Linked DNA regions of Homo sapiens: regions 1, 2 and 4 are each linked to region 3. Evidence: promoter capture Hi-C in human tissues and cell types (Jung and others, 2019). All regions are on one chromosome and are shown on one strand. Each heading gives the region's core, a stretch centred on a gene start or on the middle of the fragment in contact. The rest is flanking DNA. Distances are from core to core; before and after follow the strand shown.

Region 1 (3,520 bases), core at 1,020-3,519, 480 kb before region 3:
ATCTCTCTGAAAGTGAGGTTTCGGTTAGAGAGCCTGTGCAGCCACAGGCAGACACACCTGAGACTTGGTCCAAGCACCTTTCCTCCAAGAGGCTTTCCTCTATGTTCTCATTTCTCCTCCCAACAGGTATTTTTACCCCTGATTTGTAGGCAGAAGTAAAGCCCAAGCAACTCAATCAAGGTCACAAAACAGGCATAGCTGAGACCAGAAGCCAAGTCTCCCTCTGCCTTCTTCACTAGCTCACTCCACCCTATCGTGGCCCAGTCCACATAACACTGTGCCAGGGCCTAGCATCTCCTTCCACGCTCCCAGGAGCTCAGCAAGGGAGCATCTTGTTCTCTGGCCATCCAGAGCAGCAGCCAGGGAGAGGAACAGCTTAACTTCCTGTCACTTCCTGCCCACCCTGCCCTCCACCCTAGCTCAGCTTGGAGGTGGAGCCAACAGTCTCAGTCTCCGGAACTAATCCCCTCTAGCAGCCCCCACTCCCTACAGAAACCCTGTGCTAAGGCAAAGTTGAGAAGTTAAGGCTGAGCAGAACCTCTTGAGAGCTGGCTGAGGTCCTGACTCGGTAAGATCAGTTCACTTTATGGACCTGTCCCAAAGTGGCTTCCCTGATCCAAAGCACCAACTCAGGGTGCCTCTGGATCAGAGTGAGCAGCAGAGGGACTCTCACAGAAAGGGCTGAGCTGGAGGCGGCTGGAGCTGACAGGGCGGCAGCCACTCAAGCAGGTGAGGCTCAAAAGTTAAGACTGAGCAGGGCCTCAGACAGTTGGTTGATGTCCCGGCAGTATGGCTCCCGCTGCAGGATGAAGTCCACTTTGTGATCCTGACCCCAAAACACCTCCAGCAGCTGCCGCCGGAGCCGCTCTGTTTCCCGGGTCTTCCGAATGCCACCACTACCTTTTTCCTCTTCTCTCCCCTGCTGCTGTTTACCATGTTCTGCAAAGCCCCTGGAAGGATGCTGAGCCTTAGAAGACCCCTGTGTCCTGGGAAGAAACAGACCAAAAAGAGCTGATGAGCATCCTGGGGGGGAAATTAGATCTTAGTGGGCACCCCTCTCGTAATTGTCCTGCCTATTCCTGGCTTTGGGGGAGAAATCCTGAAGTTCCTGAAGCTGACCACTGAGTGGCAGTATCAACCCACTTCTGAAGGGAAGATGGGCCGTTCTTTTAGAAACAGGGTGAACTCTGCCACTATTATGATCTAGTTCTAGTCCTAAATGAATCACTTATGTAATGGTCAGCAGAAGGCATGCTGAATACAACTGGCTGTCAGTATAAGCAACCATTTTCCAAATAACTCCATCAAACATGCTGATTAAGAGAAACAGGAAGCAGGTGTTTCCCTCCCAGCAAGGAGGTTCTATGTCAGGATCCCCTGGGAAGCTTATAAAGGCCAAGGCCAATGCAACTCAAACCACTGCAAAATTAAGCTGGCCCAAACTGAGGTCACACTTCCACCCAAGTCTCTGGGCCTGCTGAGAGAGGGCCAGGGGTGGGGGCTGCCTGTAAGTAGTCTAGGGGATTGATTACCTGGCTGGCTTCTTCAGAAATTCATCCAGGGTGGGGCCGTTTCGCCCCAGTGGGTCATCAGGTACCATGAAGAGGTTTCCCACAAAGGTAAAGGGCAGCAGGCTGGATGGCGAAAGATAATGTGTGGTCACAGAGGGGGCCCTTGCCCACCTCCCAGACAACCGAGACCAGTATCACCAGAAGCTGCTGGCTCCATCCTTCAAGAAAACTTCACCTCCTTCCCAGAGTTTTCACCCCATGGCCAGAGCAGAGCTGGCTTTAGAAAAACATCTGCATCTGTGCCCAGTTCTCAGCGGGAGGGCTCCCTCACCGTTCTCTGATGATTGCCATCCACTTCTCAGACTCCTCCGCCAGGTCCCGGAACTGGTCATTGGAGACAATTATCCCATCTGTCTCTTCAGCCAGCTTCACCATGAACCTGTCTCCAAAACCACAGCAACCGAGAGAGGGTTGAAAAATTACCTACTGGGTACAATGTTCACTGTTTGGATCATGGTTACATTAAAAGCCTAGACTTCACCACTATGCAATATATCTATGTAGCAAAACTGTATTGGTATCCCCCAAATCTACAAAAATAAAAGTAAAAACCACAGCAACCATTTGGGACTCTCCAAGGCCCCAACCCCAGAAGTTTTACTGTCTCCCATAGGCCACTTCTGGTGATGGAGATCTGGCCCCCTACCTCACCTTGACCCAGCTACAGGCAACTGACTAGATGCAAGTGCCATGGCCTAGAGAGGAAACAAAGATGAATCCAAGGTGGTCTCCCAGTAGCATCCTATCTGCCAACCATAGTCCTTCACCCAACACTTTGTGCCTCGTTAGTAAACAGTAAGATCTAGCTCTGTCTTCCACCCTGCCCAACCAATCCCTTGCAAATCCAACATGCCTTTCCTTTGAAAAGCCTTGTGCTCTGCTCCCTTCCTTCCCAGGCCCACCATTACCACCCCAGTAATTCAGATATTGCAACTGAGATTATGCATAACCTCCTAACAAGGGGGTCCCCGCCTCTGACCACTCACCCACCCTCCAGTCTCCCCTGCCCTGCCCCAAGAAAGCATGCTTATCACCTACACAAAACTCTTCCACACTTGCCCTTTATTTACCAAATAAAGTCCACACACCCAGGCCTGGCAGCTAAGGCCTTCTACAGGCCAGCTCAAATCACCCTTACAGCCTTATCTCTCCCAATATTCCCTAACCCACTCTCAACTCCAGCTAAAATCAATAATCAGATTACACTCTGCTCTCCACATATGTCTTATGCTGACTTCCATATTTCTCCAACTATTTCCTCTATCTGGAAGGCACTTCCCAAGACTTGCTAAGGAACAGAATTACCAAGGGAACTTTTTTAAAAAATGCCTGGGCTCCATTCAGTAATTCTGATTCCACAAGACAGGGTAGGACTCATGAAGTGATGGGTGGTGGTCTTTTTAACAGATTTAGAAACAGAGATCCAACCCATCCCAGTCTTCTCAACACAAAAACTCACAAATCTCTCCTTTCCCACAAAACCCCAGCCAGAATGGGGCTCCTTTCCCTCTGAGTTCCTGTAGTGTTTGATTTATGGTTTCTTTCGGCTCTCTAGTCAAGAATCAGATCTTGTTCCCAGTGTTCCCACCTCCTCCTGCAGGCCATGCACCTAGTACTAAGTGAGCAGTCAGTATTTGAAAGATAGTGTGGTATAGGGGGAACTGGGAGTCAGGATTAGGTGTGACAGATATCAGGCTCTGAGCTTCTGTCTGGGAAACAAATTAAGGGAATGACATACAAATGTCTATGGCCGGGCTTGGTGGCTCACGCCTGTAATCCCAGCACTTTGGGAGGCTGAGGTGGGCGGATCATGAGGTCAGGAAATCAAGACCACCCTGGCCAACATGGTGAAACCCCATCTCTACTAAAATGCAAAAAGTTAGCTGGGCACGGTGGCATGCACCTGAAGTCCCAGCTACTCGGGAGGCTGAGGTAAGGGAATCACTTGA
Region 2 (3,469 bases), core at 531-3,030, 500 kb after region 3:
TGAAATATCTATAAATCTTTTCTTTCTTTAACCTTGCTAATTAGCTGACTTTAAGTCTATAAATCTTTTGACTATTTTAAAATTTTCTTGTATTATTATTGAGTTGTACTTGTTCTTTATCTATTCTTAACACAAGTCCTTTATTAGAAATATGATTTGCAAGTATTTTCTTCCAGTCTGTGGCTTAGATTTTAATTTTCTTTTTAAAATTTTAATCTTCTTAATGACATCTTTTGAAGCACAAAATCTTTCAACTTTGATGAAGTCCAACTTACAATTTTGTCTTTTGTGGATTATGCTTTTGGTATTGTATGTAAGAACTTGTTTCCTAACCAAAGACTTTTCCTACGTTTTCTTCCAAAAATTGTAAGTTTTAGATCTTACATGTAAGTCTCTGAACTGTTTTAAGTTATTTTTGTGTATAGTGTGGGGTGTGGTCTAAATGTATCTTTTTGCATGTGTGTATCCAGCACCATTTCCTCAAAGAATTGTTTTGGAATCTTTGTTGAAAATAAATTGATCTCCCTTCATTTTAAATTTTAACTAAATGAAAAATTCAGTGTCTCAGTTGCACTAGACACATTTCAAGTACCCAACAGCCATGTTTGGCTAGTGACTACCACACTCAGTAGTGTAGCCCTAGGGGACACAAAGATGAAAATATTACAGTTCTCAACCCCAAGGACCTCATATTCTGGTGCCATCAACTTAAGGAAACTGAAGCGGTGTAAGAATAAGCAATATGCTAACAATGAAAAGCAACAGCAGGAAAAAAAGCCACAATGATTGTAAATTAATGCTTTCAAAGAGTGGCTATATGTAAACATATTCATAATTTTTGACTAAGGAATTCGTCTCCTAGAATTTGTTCTATTGAAATCATTCAAAATAAAAAGAAGCCATGTGTACTTATGTTTAGAGATACTTTATTTATAAGTTCAAAAAAACTACAAACAGGGAGTCAGTGGGAAAGAGGAGTAACTGCTAATAGGTATGGTATTTCTTTTGGGGGTGATGAAAATGTTCTAAAATTTGATAGTGGTGATGCTTGCACAACTCTGAATATACTAAAAACTACTGAATCGTATATTGTAAAATGGTAAATGTTATGGCACATGAATTATATCTCAATAACAATGTTATTTAAAACTATAAACAATCTAAATATCAAACAAGTAAATGTTAATATTTTTACTCAGAAATAGCAAATGAATAGCTCCGTAGCTCCATTTATTGGGCATTTACTACATGCCAGGCACTATTCTGAGCACTTTACATGCATTAATTCAGTGGTTCTCAATGTGTGGTCCTCAATCCAGTAGCATCTGGTATGCAAATTCAGGCATCCCAGGCTGGAGTGCAGTGATGCAATCTCGGCTTACTGCAGTCTCCACCTCCCAGGCCCAAGTGATTCTCCTGCTTCAGGCTCCCAGGTAGCTGGGATTATAGGCATGCACCACCACACCAGCTAATTGTTTTGTATTTTTCATACAGATGGGGTTTCATCATGTTGATCAGGCTGGTCTCAAACTCCTGACCTCAAATGATCTGCCTCCCAAAGTCCTGGGATTACAAGCATGAGCCACTGCACCCAGCCAAGAAAATGTGTCCTAACAAAGCTTCTGTGTGATTCTGCAGCATGAACAAGTTTGAGAATCTCTGTATGTATTATGCCATTCTTGCATTGCTATGAAGAAGTACCTGAGACTGGGTAATTTACGAAGAAAAGAGGTTTAATTGCCTCACAGTTCTGCAGGCTTTACAGTATCTGCTCAGCTTCAGGGAAGGCCTCAAGGAACTTTTACTCATGGCAGAAGGCAAAGCAGGAGAAGGCATGTCATATGGCAAGAGCGGGAGCAAGACAGGGAGAGGGTGCCACACGCTTTTAAACAATCAGATCTTGAGAGAACACACACACTATGGTGAGGACAGCACCAAGGGGATGGAGCTAAACCATTCATGAGAAATCTACGCCCAGGACCTAAACACCTCCCACCAGTCCCCACCTCCAACACTGAGGATTACATTTCAACATGAGATTTGGGGGGACACATATTTAAACTATATCACTGTATTAAGTTATCTGACAGCAAACCCATAGGTTAGCAATATTATTATCCCCATTTATGAAATATAAGATTGTAAGAATATGAAATGCTAATTGGTGTTTTATGAGATTATGTACATATATATCTACACACAGCAGCCATACAAAAAATATGTATTATACACATATACACACCCCTTGGAAAGAACTGAACAAAGGAGAATAATGTGATTGGGTAGGAGATCTTGGGTGTCATTTTTGTAGTTGTAAAGTTTCAACAAAGTTTGTTTTGTGTGTTTCAGGGTCAGCTGTGTTGGACTGGCAAGTGCTTTCAAAGGAGAGCCACTGAGCTGTGCCTAGAAAAGCAGCCAGAAAAAGTCCCGACAAGGTCAGGGACTGAGAAAGCCCAACCTGGGGTGAGGGTGCTGTCCATAGACCAGTCAGACCTGGGGGGAGACTGTGAAGGGATAAGGTGGGGCAGTTGGGCCAGCTTATGGAGGGTCTTTAAATGCCAGCCAGAGGAGTCCAGGCTTCATCTTAAAGACAACAGGGAGCCCTGGAAGTTTCTATGAATGACAGATATGTAAGAGGTAGTGCTTTAGAAAATCAAGTCTGCTAGCCATCTGGTGAAATGAGCCTCTGGAAGACTAGTTAAGGTGCTGTTGCAATTATGCAGACGTGAAAAAGGGGCTTGCCTAGTGTTTTTCAAGAGAATGGAAAAGAAAGGAGGAGGCGGGACATTTCGAAGGTGGAATCTGCCGAATAGTATAAATGTAACTGAGTACCTTTCTCCTGGATCCCTTCCCCTTTCTCTTCTCTAGTTCCCAGTTTCTCTAGGTAGGTTTCTTCATTCTTTACCTGTGACCACAAGTCTAGAATCTCTCATGCAAATGAATCAGAAACTAAACGTTGCTTTCCCCCAAGAATCACTGGTTATGCCACCTATTCTATAAAATCAGATAGTATCATGATCTCTTTTAATACACATTAATAGCTGCTCAGTGCCTATAGATTAAAGTCCAAACTTCCTTAACTTGGTTCAGAAGGTCCTTCATGACCAGCTGAACCTGCCTTCTAGGCTCTTCTCTTGTCATATTCCCCTGATTACTCCCATACTTTAGCCATTCTGAATCAATTTCAGTTCCTCTTGGGGCTTTGGACACGCTGGCTTCTCTGCTCAGCTCCTTCTTGACATATTCTGATATAATTTGTATCTGTGTCCCCACCCAAATCTCATATTGAAATGTAATCCCCAATGTTGGAGGTGGGGCCTGGTGAGAGGTGACTGGATCATGGGAGCAGATTTCTTATGAATGGTTTAGCTGCATCCCCCTTGGTACTGTCCTCACGGTAGTGAGTGAGTTCTGGTGCCATCTGGTCATTTGAAAGTGTGCAGCGCCTCCCCTTCTCTCTCTTGCTCCT
Region 3 (3,203 bases), core at 31-2,530:
ACCACCTCTGGGCCAGGCCTGTAGGCCATGTTAAGTGAACCTGGTGGGGGCCACAGGATGTTTTTCCGGGAGGATTTTCACATTACATTGCTACATGTCATATGGTTAGTGCTAATTGATCCAGACTCCCAAACGGCTCCTTCCACCATCAGGATCAAGGCCCCAATCTTGGGGTCTGTCCATCAGCCTAAGCCAAGCTTTTTTGGACTCACATTTGTGACTTTCTTGGACTCATATTTGGCTCTTTCCAATGCACATTTGAGCATTTGCCAGACAGTTCCTTAAAAATGGAATTACCCTATTCTGTCTACCATACTACTGTCTACTATTGCTTAAGATCCTCCTCTTCTAAGATTATGCAAATTATTTCTGCCAACCTTCCAATCTGTTAGCAGAATCCTGTACTTTCCATTTTTGGGTAGATTCTCCCTTCCACTCTGGGAAATAAAGTGTATGCCGTGAGCCTCAAGGGAAGAGGAGCTTCCTTTGTGAATGCTTCATATTTGCTTCAGCAGCTGCAAGGCTGGTGTCCACTACTAATTCTGACATCGACTTATATACTTTCTTTGAGACTAAAGTCCAGTACCCGGTAGTCCACAGGCAGCCAATAAAGGAAGGGAGCCTGGGAGGTCTGGGTCTTTCCTTACTGGCTGTGGGACCTTGGGAAGTTGCTCCAGCTATCTGAGCCAGGGTCTGCAGACTGAGAGAATAGTCCTTGCCTTGCTTGGGTTGTTGTCAGGTCTAGAGATAACCTGTGTAAGGCTCTGAACACAGGAAATGGCACATAGTAAGTGGCTGAAACATGGTGGGCTGCTTCCTGAGGTTCCCAGGGACTTGACTCTATAAGCTGAAGAAGAGGGGAATGTTTATTAACTCATGGGTGGGAACATGTATTTTGTGATTGTATTTACCCTTCACATCTGTTCAATTAGATTGAAAATTACTGCAGAACCAGTACCAGCTGTTTCTTTGGGGTACTCAAGGGATGATGCAGGGTTGAAGCATTAGAATGTTTTAAAATTCTCTGACTGAGATGGGATGATTCTCTGACGTTAGTATATGGACATAATAGAAAGGCACACAGTAAAAATGTGCTGCTGTCTAGGAAAGCAGGGAAGGAGGCTCAGGCTGGCTCCGTTTTCCACCTCCTGGCTCTGTGCCCATTTCCCTGCAGCTCACCGTGGCCACCAGCCGCTCCCGGTCCTCCGCCTTCCCCACATGGCACACGGTGCCCGTCACGCTCAGCCCCTCCCCCTGCAGCGTGGCCACCGCCTGGTCCACATTCTGCTGCTTCCGGCTGCTGACGACCACATGGGCCCCGTCCTGGGCCAAACGCCGGGCGATGGCGAAGCCGATCCTGTGAGCAGAAAGAGACAAAGACTGCTAAGGCCTGTGCAGGGGAAGAGGTCGACAGTATGAGCTCTGAAGTTAAGACTGCCCGGGTTTGAATTCTGGCTCTTTCTCTATATAACCCCTACGTGTGCCTACTATGTGTAAAACAGGCTTAATGGCATGGCCATTTTTGGCATTCCTTTACTTGTTTTTATTATGACCTGGACCACAGCCTCAGTTCCCAAGAACTGACATCACTTTCTACAGTTCCCACCATGGGTGACAGGCTTCATCCCCTCTTGGGACTGAGAGGTGAGAAATGAGCTGGGTTTGCAGCAGCAGCCACTTCCGTGATTTGAGGGTCTCACTCAGAACAGCCCTGCCCCCAGGTTTCTTTCTTACTCGTCTACATCATTCTCAAAATTCTATCCTTAGTTATTTTTTGGGGTGCATGTGAAAAGATGGTCTCCGGTCAAAAATGTAAATATTGCCTTGGGAGGAAGAGTTACACATTTTGCATTTGTCAGCTATTAGCATTTTACCTACATTTGTATTTTAGTTTTGTGAAGAGCTGGCATCTAGCAAAGTCCTGTAGAAATGAGGACCAGGATAGACAAGAATGGTGGGTGAGAAACAGGCTGGGCAAGGTCGGCCCAGATGTACCGACCTAAACAAAAATCTCGACATATGGCTCTGGTGTCCCATCTAGGTAAGGGGGAGGGGTTCCGGGGGACTTTCCGGTGCCCAAATAGAATGTCTGGTACATTTTCAAAGTGCTGGAGGCCGTGGGATAGTATTTTGAAATCCAGATTTCCTTGGATTTCCAGTTTCTGGTCTTCCCAGACGCTAGGTGGCGCTGGTTGACTGGGGCAGCCCAGAACACTGGGGAGACTAGATCGATAGGGCTGCACAGAGGTGGCACAGTTGTGCCAGAGGTAGCAGGGACAGGAGGGCTGGCAAGGGAGGGTCCAGGGCTAGGGGATTCGGAGTGGCTTCAGGCGGACCACGTGGCTACCTTTTTTCCAGGGCCAGACTTTGGCAGCGTGTAAGGTCTGAGGACAGGGGCACCGGAGGCCGAGGATGAGAGGCCAGTGCCTGTTTCCAGGCAGCCAGGGCCTCAGAAACTCCGGCCGGAGCACTCACCCGTCGGTGGAGGCCGTTACCAGGGCCACCTTATTTGCGAGCGGGTCCCGGCGGGTCATCCCGGAGCTGGCCATCCGCACCGAATTCCAAGCCCGGGCACAGAGGCCTAGCAGCCCCGCCTTGTGCATGGATCAGACCAGCAAGTATGGGTTCCACTCTTCCCAGGGGCGGTGACAGAGTAGGGCGAGGGGCAGGACGAAGGGCGGGCCGATTCCCTGCCCGCCCTGCTCCCCGCCCCGGTACCGCTGTGAGCGGTCTGTGGCCCTGGGCACCTCCATCCGCCGCGGCGCCCCTCCACCATCTACCTTCCGCCTGACTGGGGCTTGCCTTTCCGGGCTGGCGGGTGAGCTCTCCGTTCAAGTTGCCTGTAGGGCTCGCCCCTCCCCTGGCCCTTGCAGGAACCCGCAGGCTTTGGCTGCTGCCTTTCTGCATCTGCTTGCCCACCTTTTCTTCTCTGGGAAGTGGGGGTTTTGAGTTGGTTGCTTTTGCTTCTTCAGAATTCCTTCTCCAAGAAAGTCTGGGTCTATGTGTGTGACAGCCCACAGGAGGGCAAATGTTTTGAGACTGCCCATGGAGGTGAGGCCTGTGGTCGCCATGGAGTCCACCAGGTGAGGCTGGAAGAGCCTGGGAGAGAGACGTGATAGGGAGTAGCTGCGCCAGGCCTGGCACTGCCCTTCACTCTGCCCAAGGTCTCTTCCATCTTCACGGGCCCTGGAGGGCAGACTATG
Region 4 (3,487 bases), core at 692-3,191, 460 kb after region 3:
GCCAAAGAGACCAAGAAGGAACAGGGAGATGCAAAGACCAATGGGAGTGTACATCACAGAAACCAAGGAAGAAGAGTTTCAAGAAGAAAAGTTCAACAGGTCAAATGGTGAGGTCCACTGGGTTTGGGCAAAGCCAAAGATCTTGTGGCCTTGCTAATCTGTCCCATTCAGGCTATTGCCATAGAACACTGCTTAGGACTGTTTTGTTTGATGATTCCCATTTTAACACCGCTGAATGAGAAAAACTATTTTATTTATTTCTTTATTGTATTTATTTATTTTTTTTGAGACAGTCTTGCTCTGTCACCCAGGCTGGAGTATAGTGGCACGATCTCCGCTCACTGCAAGCTCCGCCTCCCGGGTTCACGCCATTCTCCTGCCTCAGCCTCCCGAGTAGCTGGGACTACAGGTGCCTGCCACCACGCCCGGCTAATTTTTTGCATTTTTAGTAGAGATGGGGTTTCACCATGTTAGCCAGGATGGTCTCAATCTCCCGACCTCGTGATCCACCCGCCTCGGCCTCCCGAAGTGCTAGGATTACAGGCGTGAGCCACCGCACCCAGCCAAGAAAAACTATTTATATTCTCATGCTGAAGCTCAGCAAAGAAGCATGCCAGTACAGCAACAGCAGTATTCCAAGGGGGCAGCTAGGCAGCATCCTGAGGACCAAGATCCACATCTGAGAAAGGAGCTCTTGTAATAAATCTGGAACCCTGGAAAATTTTTTCACTCTCTAAGGAAAAAATCTCCAAAAGCCTCAGTTTCCTCATCTGTAAGATGGTTGCAAAATGCCCCAGTGACTGTAAAGATTAAATGAGCTAGTTTTCCTAAGAAAAACCCCTTATCCTGTGGTTGGCATTTAGGAGTCACCCAATAAATGCTAACACATATTCATATCCTTCTTTCCTTTATAAGTTTTAAAAACTTTTACTTATTTTTATTTTTATTTTTTTTGAGACAGAGTCTCGCTCTGTCGCCCAGGCTGGAGTGCAGTGGCGCAATCTCGGCTCACTGCAACCTCCGCCTCCTGTGTTCACGCCATTCTCCTGCCTCAGCCTCCCGAGTAGCTGGGACTATAGGCACACACCACCGCGCCAGGCTAATTTTTGTATTTTTAGTAGAGACGGGGTTTCACTATGTTGGCCAGGCTGGTCTGAACTCCTATCCTCAGGTGATCCACCCACCTAGGCCTCCCAAACTGTTGGGGATTACAGGCGTGAGCCACCACACCTGGCCTAGCATTAAAAACTTTAAACCTGTCAGGGCACGGTGGCTCACGCCTGTAATCTCAGCACTTTGGGAGGCCACAGCAGGTGGATCACATGAGGTCAGGAGTTCGAGACTAGCCTGACCAACATGGAGAAACCCCCGTCACTACTAAAAATACAAAATTAGCCAGGCATGGTGGCACATGCCTGTAATCCCAGCTACTAGGGAGGGTGAGGCAGGAGAATTGCTTGAACCTGGGAGGCGGAGGTTGCGGTGAGCCGAGATTGCGCCACACTCCAACCTGGGCAACAAGAGTGAAACTCCAACTCAAAAAAAAAAAAAAAAAAAAATTTTAAACCTAAGATCTCATATGATCAAACTAGAGAGATCGCAACTTAGGAAGAAATAGTGAAACCCAACTTCAGAGAAGTTAAGTGCCTTACCAAAGGCCACACAGAAATTAGCTGCAGAGCCAAGATTGGAATGCAGAGCTAAGTCTTTTGTTTATTTGTTTGTTTGTTTTTAGACGGAGTTTCGCTCTTGTTGCCCAGGCTGGAGTGCAATGGCCCGATCTCGGCTCACCGCAACCTCCACCTCCCAGGTTCAAAAAATTCTCCTGCCTCAGCCTCCCGAGTAGCTGAGATTACAGGCATGCACCACTACGCCCTGCTAATTTTGTATTTTTAGTAGAGATGGGGTTTCTCCATGTTGAGGCTGGTCTCGAACTCCTGACCTCAGGTGATCCACCCGCCTCAGCCTCCCAAAGTGCTGGGGTTACAGGTGTGAGCCACCGCGCCCAGCCCTGTTTGTTTGTTTTGAGACAGGGTCTCACTCTGTCACCCAGGCTGTTGTGCAGTGGCACAGTCATGACTTACTGCAGCCTCGACCTCCCAGGCTCAGGGGATCCTCCCACCTCCGCTTCCTGAGTAGCTAGGACTATAGGCGTGCGCTACCACAACCAGCTAATTTTTGTATTTGTTTTAGAGACAGGGTTTTGCCATGTTGCCCAGGCTGGTCTCAAACTCCTAGGCTCAGGCAATCCACCCACCTCAGCCTCCCAAAGTGCTGGGATTACAGGTATGAGTTACTGCACCCAGGCCAGAACTGCTAAGTCTTAGTCCAGGGTTTTGTCATCTATAGCACATAAATGTCCCAAATCTTTTTGTAAGTAAAACCGTTTTCACTAATCATTAAATTTTGCATAAATCTGAGTGGTTTTTTTTTTGGAGATGGAGTCTCACTCCGTTGCCCAGGCTGGAGTGCAGTGGTATGATCTGAGCTCACTGCAACCTCCATCTCCTGGGTTCAAGCCATTCTCCTGCCTCGGCCTCCTCAGCTGCTGGGACTACAGCCATGCGCCACCATGCCCGGCTAAGTTTTTTTATTTTTAGTAGAGACGGGGTTTCACTATGTTGGCCAGACTGATCTCGAACTCCTGACCTCAAGTGATCCGCCCACCTCGGCCTCCCAAAGTGGTGGGATTACAGGTGTGAGCCACCATAAATCTGAATTTTTAATATAGTAACCTCATTAGTAACTGGACCAATCTACAAGGAATTCACTCTAGGGAACCTGAGCCCTCTGAACCCTCTTGGCTTTCCCCAACAGGACAGTGCCTGTGACAAGCTCAGGAACAAAGGAACACAATAGTCCTATTTCCCAGATTTCTTCTTCCGAATATTATTTACTACCAGTTTTATCCTTGACCTTGAAGCTGAGCCCAGCTAAACAGACTACCAAGATCCTTCCACTTGGCAGGATCCCTTTTTAGCCAGAAGGCAAGACCCAAGATGCATAATGTCCAAGGCTCACTCTAGCCACGACATTCCTCTGCTCTTGAAATGCCAGCAGAAATTGTACCATAAGGCAATGTTCAGTAGATAAGCCATCTCTAAGTATATGTAGTATGTTAGATGTTGCAAATGCCACAGAGAAAAATAAAGCAGGGAAGGGGGACAGGGGTTTGTATAGAGGGAAAGATAGGGCCATTTTAAATAGAGCGGTCATAGAGAAGGGGACATTTGAGTAAAGATCATTCTCTGAAACAAAGACAAGATCAGCTCAAAATATAACCTTTGTAGGTCTCAGTTACTTCATCTGCAAGGCAGGGATACTTCAGGACCTACCTGGACGCAGGAGACTTAATGCCTCCGAGGAAAGTGTTTTTGTGGTTAAGAGCACATTCTACTTTAAGCTTTGCTTTGGAAATTTCCTGTTCTATGTATCAACACAGAGTGGATATTACTTTCTCTTTAAAGATGAGGCAACTGAAAGGCTG

What was found. Contacts are between HindIII fragments. The study calls those that stand out against the background at their distance.
Region 1: a contact is called between a fragment that was not itself captured here and the fragment with the promoter of DHRS4-AS1 in region 3, in 1 of the 25 tissues and cell types used here (adrenal gland).
Region 2: a contact is called between a fragment that was not itself captured here and the fragment with the promoter of DHRS4-AS1 in region 3, in 1 of the 25 tissues and cell types used here (IMR-90 fibroblasts).
Region 4: a fragment that was not itself captured here is called in contact with the fragment with the promoter of DHRS4-AS1 in region 3 in 1 of the 25 tissues and cell types used here (mesenchymal stem cells).

Annotation. Positions count from the first base shown.
Region 1 is chr14:24,434,502-24,438,021 of GRCh38, reverse strand. It overlaps KHNYN (KH and NYN domain containing), which reads right to left. Exons shown (of 8, transcript NM_015299.3): 6 at 1,843-1,950; 7 at 1,533-1,634; 8 at 1-986. The coding sequence ends at 737. Among named protein-coding and RNA genes, the nearest start is that of KHNYN, 6.3 kb to the right of the region's middle. The HindIII fragment of the contact is 4,482 bases long and covers 29-3,520 here.
Region 2 is chr14:23,448,487-23,451,955 of GRCh38, reverse strand. No RefSeq gene overlaps it. Among named protein-coding and RNA genes, the nearest start is that of MYH7, 15 kb to the right of the region's middle. The HindIII fragment of the contact is 6,568 bases long and covers 1-3,469 here.
Region 3 is chr14:23,953,189-23,956,391 of GRCh38, reverse strand. DHRS4-AS1 (DHRS4 antisense RNA 1) reads left to right here and starts at 1,280. Exons shown (of 2, transcript NR_023922.2): 1 at 1,280-1,644. It overlaps DHRS4 (dehydrogenase/reductase 4), which reads right to left and starts at 2,622. Exons shown (of 8, transcript NM_021004.4): 1 at 2,476-2,622; 2 at 1,180-1,357. The coding sequence starts at 2,603. RefSeq lists enhancers at 1,981-2,110, 2,161-2,290, 2,901-3,100. The HindIII fragment of the contact is 7,990 bases long and covers 1-3,203 here.
Region 4 is chr14:23,496,212-23,499,698 of GRCh38, reverse strand. No RefSeq gene overlaps it. Among named protein-coding and RNA genes, the nearest start is that of NGDN, 28 kb to the right of the region's middle. The HindIII fragment of the contact is 8,706 bases long and covers 1-3,487 here.